Linked DNA regions of Homo sapiens: region 1 is linked to region 2. Evidence: promoter capture Hi-C in human tissues and cell types (Jung and others, 2019). All regions are on one chromosome and are shown on one strand. Each heading gives the region's core, a stretch centred on a gene start or on the middle of the fragment in contact. The rest is flanking DNA. Distances are from core to core; before and after follow the strand shown.

The links. Contacts are between HindIII fragments. The study calls those that stand out against the background at their distance.
Region 1: a contact is called between a fragment that was not itself captured here and the fragment with the promoter of HCAR3 in region 2, in 1 of the 25 tissues and cell types used here (mesenchymal stem cells).

The regions. Positions count from the first base shown.
Region 1 is chr12:123,224,240-123,229,479 of GRCh38, forward strand. It overlaps MPHOSPH9 (M-phase phosphoprotein 9), which reads right to left. Exons shown (of 24, transcript NM_022782.4): 3 at 3,224-3,377. Among named protein-coding and RNA genes, the nearest start is that of MPHOSPH9, 6.3 kb to the right of the region's middle. The HindIII fragment of the contact is 6,998 bases long and covers 1-5,240 here.
Region 2 is chr12:122,713,797-122,719,052 of GRCh38, forward strand. HCAR3 (hydroxycarboxylic acid receptor 3) reads right to left here and starts at 3,015. Exons shown (of 1, transcript NM_006018.3): 1 at 960-3,015. The coding sequence starts at 2,941. The coding sequence ends at 1,778. The HindIII fragment of the contact is 11,637 bases long and covers 1-5,256 here.

The DNA of each region.
Region 1 (5,240 bases), core at 1,622-4,121, 510 kb after region 2:
TTCTCCTGCCTCAGCCCCCAAGTAGCTGGGACTACAGGCACCCGCCACCACACCCGGCTAATTTTTTTGTATTTTTAGTGGAGACGGGGTTTCACCATGTTAGCCAGGATGGTCTCAATCTCCTGACCTCATGATCCGCCTGCCTCGGCCTCCCAAAGTGCTGGGATTACAGGCGTGAGCCACTGCACCCAGCCGAATTTTCATATTTTTTAGTAGAGACATGGTTTCACCATGTTGGCCAGGCTGTTCTCGAACTCCTGACCTCAAGTGATCCACCCGCCTCGGTCTCCCAAAGTGCTGGGATTACAGGCCTAAGTTTTAAATTTAAATATGATGCAGTGATCTCAATGGGGAAGGAACTCCATGTTGGAAATCTGTGAGGTCACGGTCATGACAAAGCTGGGGGGACATCACTGGCATTTAGTGGGCAGGGTCCAGGCATGCGGATCATAGGGCAGTCCCCCATGATGAAGAATTGTCCTGTGTCCATTTTATGTTATAAAACAATAAATATTTCGCACAGTATTCATAACATCAAAACAAACTTAAGTTTCAAAATCTCATGAGAAGTTGGTCACCCTTTCAGAAAAGCATGTCACCAGTGGAGGTGCTGTACACAATACCTGGATCATCAACACACCATAGCTATATTGATCTGTGTTCAGCTGCTGAATTCACAGTGAGTACATACAGGTAAACATGACTACTTCATTATGTCTTCTAATGAACATGTGCCTGACATGGATATATCCAAATACATGTTATTTTACTGTAAATTTTTTATTTCTCCTTTATGTCACATTTAGGATAGTATATTGATTTTTTAAAGCGGGTAAAGGTAGGTTATATTACCTATGAATTTCATTTCAGGATAATATAAATTGATGTTATTTTGAAAGCTGTTATAAAAACAGAGCTCAGAGGCTGGGCACAGCGGCTCATGCCTGTAATTCTAGCAGTTTGGGAGGCCAAGGTGGGTGGATCATTTGAGTTCATGAGTTCAAGACTAACCTGGGCAACATAGCAAAACCTTGTCTCAACAAAAAATGCAAAAATTAGCTGGGCATGGTGGTGTGCACCTGTAGTCCCAGCTACTTGGGAAGCTGAGGTGGGAGGATGGCTTGAGCCCAAGAGGTTGAAGGTACAGTGAACAGAGATTGTGCCACTGTACTCCAGCCTGGATGACAGAATGAGACCCTATTTCAAAAAAAAAAAAAAAAAGAAAGAAAGAAAAGAGAGAGAATGAAAGAGGAGAAAAAGAAACAAAGAAAAGGAAGGAAGGAAGAAAGGAAGGGAGGGAGGGAGGGGGTGGGAGGGAGGGGAGAGGAGAGGTGGGGCAGGGAATATATTCTGATTCTGACTTAAGATGCTAATGTCAAAAAAAAAAGGTTGATTTCTAATTATCAAAAGTAACAATTTCTAGTTAAACACAAATTTTCCAGAAGTTAAAATACATTGTGGCAATGCCTCCTTTGTCCTAAAGCATGTTAATTCAGTTATCAAAAGCTAATAAGGGCTAGCCACGGTGGCTCATGCCTGTAATCCCAGCACTTTGGGAAGCCAAATCAGGCAGATTACCTGAGGTCAGGAGTTCGAGACCAGCCTGGCCAACATGGCTAAACCCCTTCTCTACTAAAAATACAAGAATTAGCTGGGCATGGTGGCGCTCGCCTGTGATCTCAGCTACTCGGGAGACTGAGGCAGGAGAATCACTTGAACCTGGGAGGCAGTGGTGGCAGTGAGCCGAGATCGCACCATAGCACTCCAGCCTGGGCAACAGAGCAAGACTCTGTCTCAAAAACAAACAAACAAATAAACAAAAAGCTTATGAGTAGATACATTAAGGGAAGCATTTAATATACTTAATAAAACATTCCATTTTTAATTGCATTTGCATGGGCATTTTTAAAGGTCTTTCACGTTAGTGCATACTGATTATTATATGCAAACAAGCATAAAGTATAAAAACTGAAAACTCAATTTTTTAAGCATATAATAATACTTTTTTATAATTTCAATAATTATGGATAATGGATATAAATAATTACACTTAGCAGTTGCTGCTATCGAATTCTTAAACCAGGTAATCTTTCATTTCGCTTACTCTACATTCTGAAAAATAACACAAATTATGCTTCTAAAAGTACAATTAACGTTTAAAACAAGATCTAGTGCTTTCTAAGAATTAATAATGGTTTAAACATTTCTATAAAAAACTATCAAATCCAGCCTTAGGAAAGTCTATCTTGAGCATTATCCTATGAAATAAAATTTATATATACTTTTTTTTTTTTTTACTGAGGGGGTCTTGCTATGTTGCCCAAGCAGGTCACAAACTCTGGGCACAAGCTATCCACCTCTGCCTCAAGTGCTGGGATTACAGGTTCTCTTTTTTTATATATAGAGAGAGACAGGGTCTCAGTCTGTCACCCAGGCTGGAGTGTAGTGCTGTGATCATAGCTCACTGCAACCCTGACTTCCTGGGTTGAAGTGATCCTCCCACATCAGCCTCCCAAGTAGCTAGGACTACAGACACCGTGCCACCATGACCAGCTAATTTATTTATGTATTTATATTTGTAGAGACAGGGTCTCGCTATCTTGCCCAGGCTAGTCTCAAACTCCTGGCCTCAACCAAACCTCCCACCTTGGCCGCCTAAAGTGCTGGGATTACAGGCGTGAGCCACTGTGCTCGGCCATGTAAGTATTCTTTTAACTGTTACATTTTTATATCACAATTTAACCTATGAACCAAAGAAAGAACCACTGATCTGAAAACAATATAATGCAATGTATCACAGCTGAATATGGTAAGGTACTAAATAGAAGCTTCAATTTATAATTAGAACATTGAAAATATTTCAAAGTGGATTTAGGTTTTTCAAAATGATGACAATTCCATATAAGTTACTGACAACATTACAATTAGTAACAATTTTAATAATTTTGGGATTCTCAGGTCTCTGAACCAAGACAATGTTTTAGTTCATATTTAATATACAAATTAGTATGTCTAATCAGTAATATATTGTTAAAAAATACTTTTGATCACCTTTTTCCCATTCATTCAATATCATTCCCAAATTAATATACTTGACCACTTTAGCATTAACTTAAAAGTGTCATGCTCTTCAGGACATAAATTTCTAATAATTTAGAGTTTAGTAGAGGTATGTTTTAACATAATTATTTTAAAATTCCAAAAATAAAACAAAATTAGATACCTCACAGTTTTTCCAAAGTTCCGAATCAGTCTTTCCACTGTTTTGTAGCTCTTGCATTAAAGAAGTTAGGACTTCAACTGTACCTTGAATTACAGATGGTCTGGTCTTCCCTGAGAAAGAGGATACCCCATTTGTACTAAGGTGGGGACTACTTCTGTTGAAACATAAATAATTCAAATGGTTTTCTTCATTCTATCAAAGTGTTGAATAATTCAGCAGTTCAAGATTTAGCAGAGCAGTACAAAACCACTGACATTTAATCCTTCTAATGGCACCTCATTTGTTCAAAATCTGATCACAAGTTGCTCCACAAAAGGAAACGGCCAGTAAAAAGACCGCACTGTACTCTTTTTAAGAACACAACAAGAAGACCTTCTCCAGAAGTGAGAGAACACTCCAAAGGATCGGCAGAAAATAGAAAAAGTCTGTGCTAAACAATAAGATTAATTTCCAGCTTCTCTGATCTCAGCTATTCCAGAGGATTATTTCCCCCAACTTTCAGAACAGCCCTTCATTGTGCAGTGGGGATTCTTTCCCCACTGCCCCAAATGACAGTCAAATCTTGTTCACTGGACACCCTTAATTTGGTACGATAAGCTGATGCTTATCTCTGCACTATCTCTGCATAAAAGTTGTGCCAAGCAAATCAGCAGCAAATATTCAGGACTTATTTAGCCTACTCAGTGTGTAAAACAGCACTGAGTTTTTCCAGGAGTACTGCTTTTCCAAACTTCAGGTAAGTTATTTCGGATTTGTTTTATAAACACACAATATATTTCAGGACATTAAAATGTACTTAAAATCTAGTCACCAAAAGATCATTTTAATTTATTTACTGCTTGATATCCTGCTTTCTTTCACAAATAATTTGTTTAAAAAAATAAATAAAAATAACAATAAAATAATAGTTAGGACCAGTGAAAATATTACTAAAAATTCAAAGGAGGCCAGGCGCAGTGGCTCACGCCTGTAATCCCAGCACTTTGGGAGGCCAAGGCGGGCGGATCACCAGGTCAGGAGATCAAGACTGTCCTGGCCAACATGGTGAAACACCATCTCTACTAAAATACAAAAAATTAGCCGGGTGTGGTAGTGCGTGCCTGTAGTCCCAGCCAATCAGGAGGCTGAGGCAGGGGAATCCCTTGAACCCAGGACACGGAGATCGCAATGAGCTGAGATGGCACCACTGCACCCCAGCCTAGTGACAGAGCAAGACTCCGTCAAAAAAAAAAATTCAAAGGAAAGAATATATGTTATCAGTAAAGGATTTTACATAGCTGTAATAATCAAGTTTAAATGTGGCCAATTTAACTGCCAGTCACAATGAAAAGGAAGACAAGTTTAATTGCCTAATTTTCACTAGCAAGGCACAGTTAGCTTCCTCCAGCCAAATCAAACACTGTTCTAACAGGAATATCTTCTAGAAGTGTACTTTAAAGGGACCACCAAGTAATACAAGAACCAAAATGCGTGGCCAACTTTCTGCAAGTGCATACAGATTACTGTAGGACCATTTCCTGTGCCTTTTAAAATTTCCTTTTCTCGTTTTATTTCACATATTCCTTTGTTTTTTACAACTCCCCACCCCCATTGTTTTATATACCCATGTAAGCTGCCTTAAATTCCTCCTGAAAAGGGCAGAGAATTAACAACTTTTAAAGTAATGTATTTATTTATAATACACAATTTCTTCAAGACCTACCGTGTTTAAAGCTCCTTGCCCCTTTACCAGTAAGGCCCCAAAACCGCTGTTTTCCTTCCTTGTACCCGCTCTTTATAGATGCTCTCCTCTCTTACAGTCCTTGCCTCTTTGCTGTTTCTACACTACTATAAATTTAGAAACCCAATAACCAAGCTTGTCAGACTATGTGCAAATTGAAAGTAAACAGGCTCTGATGAAAAACAAACCATGATCTGTGTTAAGACCATTAAAAAATAAAAAACCAATCACAGGATAGCTTAAAAATAAAATGCATTTTAAAAAATTAATAAAATGCATAAAACACACTTTGATAAC
Region 2 (5,256 bases), core at 1,765-4,264:
TTGCTTGGTGATACAGACAAGCCAACTGCTCTGAAAGCACAGAGGTAATTCCAGAGCATCCACCTTTCTTCATTTACTGTCATTCACCCAGAGCTGGGAGCCTGTCTCTAAATTCCTTATCTGTGTTCATGTCAGGAGGTTGAAGCAAGCCTCGTCTTGCCAAATAATCAAGGACTGACAGAGTTAGAAATGAAAGCGTAACAGAAACTTGGACTGATCACAGACTCAAACCAGTACATCTCCTTTCCTTCTCCGAATTGGGAACTGAAACCATTCCATAGGAAGCTCGCTCTTCCCCCTCCTATGGAAAAATATCTGCCTGGCTTGATTCCCTTTTTATATTATTTATTATTATTATTTGAGATGAAGTCTTGCTCTGTCCCCCAGGCTGGAGTGCAGGCACACCACCTCGGCTCACTGCAACCTCCGCCTCCCGGGTTCAAGCAATTCTTCTTCTCCCAGCCTTCCCAGTAGCTGGGACTACAAGCGGCCGCCACCATGCCTGGCTAATTTTTCTTGTATTTTTAGTAGAAGTGGGGTTTCACCATTTTGTCCAGGCTGGTCTCAAACTCCTTACTTCAGGTGATCTGCCCGCCTTGGCTCCCCCAAAGTGCTGGGATTACAGGCATGAACCATTGCACCTGGCCTTGATTCCCTTTTTAATGCACAAATATGAAGAGCAATATTCACCAAACTCTAATAAAATGTAAGTGCTCTTGCAATCCTATCTGTACTATCCTTCCAAATTATTTTTAATCCCAGCTCTTTCTATCTTTGTTTAGACACAGGTGTAATTTCTGCTTAGTTGTTTCATGATGTAGCTCAGTGTCTGTGTCTCTTTCTTACTTTGCAGTGTGGAGTAGTTTTCTACCAGGACAAAGTTAACAACCCATAAAGGTCTCTGCTTAAGTAAGAAGTCCATTTCTGTGAACCATAACCCAGATATAGCAACGCCAGACTGTCTCCTATCAAAATTTATTGAAATGGTAGATTTTTGGTAAGTACAGAAACACAAGCGAAGGAACCAGGAGGAACGTGCACCCCTCTACCCGTGGGGCAGAGGCACGTTTCCCTTTTAATGGTAAAAGCAAACAGGTGGGAAACAGCTTTCTATCCTGAAGCCGTTTTAACTGTTCAACCCTTAGATTACTATAAACAAGAGAGGAATGGATTGCATTAGTCGCTGGTTGAAAGCAGCAATGCCATTTCCTTTCCCATAATAACACTGTTTAGCTCAGTCCCTTCTGGGGCTAATCCCCTATTACACCCACCGGAAACACAGATACTAACCAAAGCATGTGAGTCTCTTCCCTGAGTCCATTTCTGCTAAAGATTGTCTGAAAGATGAATTGGTCCACGGAAGCCAGGTGACCTACTGGCTTGTTTAATGATGCCTGGGCTTCCTCCAGGAACAACACAATTCCCTCCAATCTCAGCTCTCCTTATCCCTGCTAGAGCTCACAAGCAGGCTAGATATCACCCCAGGAGCTGAGCCCCCTCCAGTCTGAGGCAGATGTGGGAAGAAGGCCAACAAGTCACAAGTAGATCTCTGGCTCCAACTCTGCTCAGCAGAAACGCCTACAATTTGCCCATCTTCAGTCCTGCGAGCGTCAGAGATGAAGCAAGTTTCAGATGCCTAGAAGCTTTACTCTCTGTTCCTCCAGGATTCCTGCGGTCACACCTTGCAACCAGTCTCCCACTCATCTGCCACAGTTTCCCTAAATCAGATTCTCTGAATCTGGAAGTTCCAGGAAATCTTAGGCCGAGTCCAGTGACATTACTCGATGCAACAGCCCAACTGTTTCTCCAGAGATGCTGGTTCTTGGTGACAATGTCCCTTCTTGGAATGGTTATTTGAGGTTGGGCCCAGATAAGAGGGGCTCCATGGCTCACCGGAGTTGGCGATTAACGCCTCTGGAGCGCCTCTGGTTTTGTTGGGGTCCCCTGTGAGCTCGACGCTCGTGCTGCGGTTATTATCTGGCTCACCTGTTATCTTCCTCTGGAGGCAGCGGTTGATCAAAGTGGAGAAGAAGTTGGGAAAGGATGGGCTGGAGAAGTAGTACACCACGGGGTCCAGCATGCTGTTCATGTAGGTGAAGCTGAGAGTGATAAAGAACGCCAGGTCCACCGAGCGGTACACTTCACAATTCTGCGTGCCCGAAGTGTGCAGGAGCCAGAAGATGTGGATCCGCACAACCACGCTGGGAAGGAAGCAGATGACAAAGACGATGGCCACCACCATGATGAAGGTGATGGCTCTCTTGATCTTGGCATGCCGGTCCATTTGTCTCTGCCGCAGGCTCCAGATAATTCTGGCTGAGCAGAACAGGATGATGCCCAGGGGCAGGAAGAACTCCAGGAGGAACATAGCTTCGTGCCACCGGAAGGTATGGCAGATGCTGAAGCTGATGCACACATTTGCAGTGCCATTCTGGATCAGCAACTTCTTCTTCAGGAGGTGGACTGTTAGGCCAACAGTGATGCCCCACAGAAGGCAAGAGATGATGGCTGCTGTCCAATTGGAGATCTTGTTCAGGGCGTGGTGGGGATGGACCACCCGGAAATACCTGTCTACCGCCACCACCGTGAGGAATATGATGCTGCCCTGGCGGTTCATGGCAAACATGAAGAGCACCAGCCGGCAAGGGATGTCCCCAAACTTCCAGTCTGAACGCCGCACATAGTAGTCCATCACGAACGGCAGGCAGATGATCAGTAGAAAGTCAGCTACTGCCAGGTTGAACAGGAAAATCCGGCTGGATTTCCAGGACTTGAGGTGGAAACAGAAAATCCACAGGGCAAGGCCATTGCCCAGAAGCCCAAAGATAAACTCCAGCCCCAACACCGGCGGCAACACCTTGGCAATGAAGTCATCTCGGAACACACAGCAGTTCTTCTTGTCTATTTCCAGAAAGTGATCCTGCAGATGGTGCCGATTCATGAGTGCAGCTAGTGAGTCCGATGGAGCGCCTCGCCTAGTGAATGCTCCAGCAAAGTGGCGTGTGTCTGTATGGTGAACGTGTGGTTCCGTGCCTGCCTTTATGTCATGTCAGGGTGTTGAAATAGATGACTGAATGGTTATCAGGAAACTACGAAATCTCTAAAAAAAAAAAAAAAAAAGCCAGCAAGGCTCTTATGCAACCTGCTGTTTGCATAAACAAATAATAAAAATCCCCTGGGCATACAGGAACCCACCAAATGTCTTAAATGTAAAGGATAAGTTTAGGCAAGCTGACTGTCATTCGAAAATCAGTGAAACATGAAGGACATCCCTTTGGAAGGCTGGGTGCTTGTATGCCAACTGAGTACTCAACGTTGCAGAATTAATTCACCGTCATCTGCTTGGCTGACATAATTAACAAAACAACAACAATAGCAATAATAATTTTTGGTGCCAAACAGTGAGGTTTTCCAGAAACACTAAGAATTAGCATGAAAAATTAACAGGCATATGACATAAACAGTAGCAGGCATATGATTTCTTTTGGAAATGCTGAGAAGACAGTAGTTGCCTGTTTGATGAGGACAGACTGGTTGAATTTGACCACTTTTCCTATGCTACCTTTCTGTACAAACATGGAGTGCTTTTCCATATCAGAACTCTGCCATTCATCTCCAGTTAGGAAAAAAAAAAAAGCCTGCTGGAGAGTGTAATATTTCATAAGATGTTTGAAAACTTGAGCCCAGTTTCAGTGGCATGTTAAAATAAGTTGGGTTTTTTGTTTGTTTATATTAGATTTTGATATGCTTCTGTGCTCAAGTGATTTAAGTATGTGATTTCTTTTTTTTGCAAACTTTGAATTAATGAGAAAAGGATTCATGAGGCTAGTTGTAAGCTGTAGCAAATCGGGTGTACTTTGTGCTACAAATTTGTTTTTCTGTGTCGCTCTGCATGAAGAGGGGTACCTTAGGATAGAGCATGGGGTTAGTACCCCATAAGCTGTCTGTTCTAGACAGCCCAGGAAACTGGTCAGTAAGAAAGTTGGTTGCAGGTCCCTGAAACAAACAAAAAACTGGATGAGGTCTCTAACTTGTTTTATGTCCTTGGGACCTTAGGATGTGATTTTTTTTTTTTGAGACAGAGTCTCACTCTGTCACCCAGGCTGGAGAACGGTGGAACAATCTCAGCTCACTGCAACCTCCGCCTCCCAGGTTCAAGCAATTCTTCTGCCTCAGCCTCCTGAGTATCTGGGACTACAGGCGTGCGCCACCACGCCCAGCTAATTTTTTGTATTTTTAGTAAAGACGAGGTTTCACTGTGTTGGCCAGGCTGGTCTCGAACTCCTGACCTTGTGATCCACCCGCCTCGGTCTCCCAAAGTGCTGTGATTACAGGCGTGAGCCACTGCGCCTGGCCGTGATTTTTTTTTTTTAATGAACTTTATTTTTTAGGGCAGTTTTAGATTCACAGCAAAATTGAGCAGAAAGTACGGACGGTCCTGTGCACTCTGTCTCCACACACGCAAAACCTCCCCCACTAAGTATGTGATATTTTTAAAGCCCCCATTTTTGTAAAATTAAACTTAGAGTGACAGGACCTAAGAGGACATGGAACCCTGCCTTGTAGCGGGACACCATTGCACACATTGTTTCTCTGCTTGTCAGTGCGATTGGGTGTCATCCTATAGAATGTTTTCTCCCTTTAATATTTTGGTCTTATGAATTCTTCCATGCAGGAGACTTCTAAACTATGTTGCTTCTACTTTGAGTTATATAATGTAAATTTCTTCCTTTTTTTTTTTTTTTCTTTTGAGATGGAGTTTCACTCTATCGCCCAGGCTGGAGTGCAGTGGCTCACTGCAACCTCTGCCTCCTGGGTTCCAGTCATTCTCCTGCCTCAGCCTCCCAAGTAGCTGAGACTACAGGTGCCCGCCACCGTGCCTGGCTAATTTTTGTATTTTTTAATAGAGATGGATTTCACCATTTTGGCCAGGCTGGTCTTGAACTCCTGACTTCAAGTGATCCTCCCGCCTTGGCATCCCAAAGTGCTGGGCTTACAGGTGTGAACCATCACTGCCGGCCATAAGATGTCAATTTATTTCTTTAGCTGCAAACGCAGGTTCAATAATAGGAGCTTATAGAGTCTTCAAGTAAACTAGAGTTAGGATGACCTAATATTAGGTTCCCATAGAACTACAAGTACTTGATGATGATCCAGGTGAGATGAAGACAATGATGAAGATGATGGTGGCACCTACATTATAGAGAGCTTCCCATGTGCTGGAACCCATACTCAGTGCTTTTTTTTTTTTGAGAC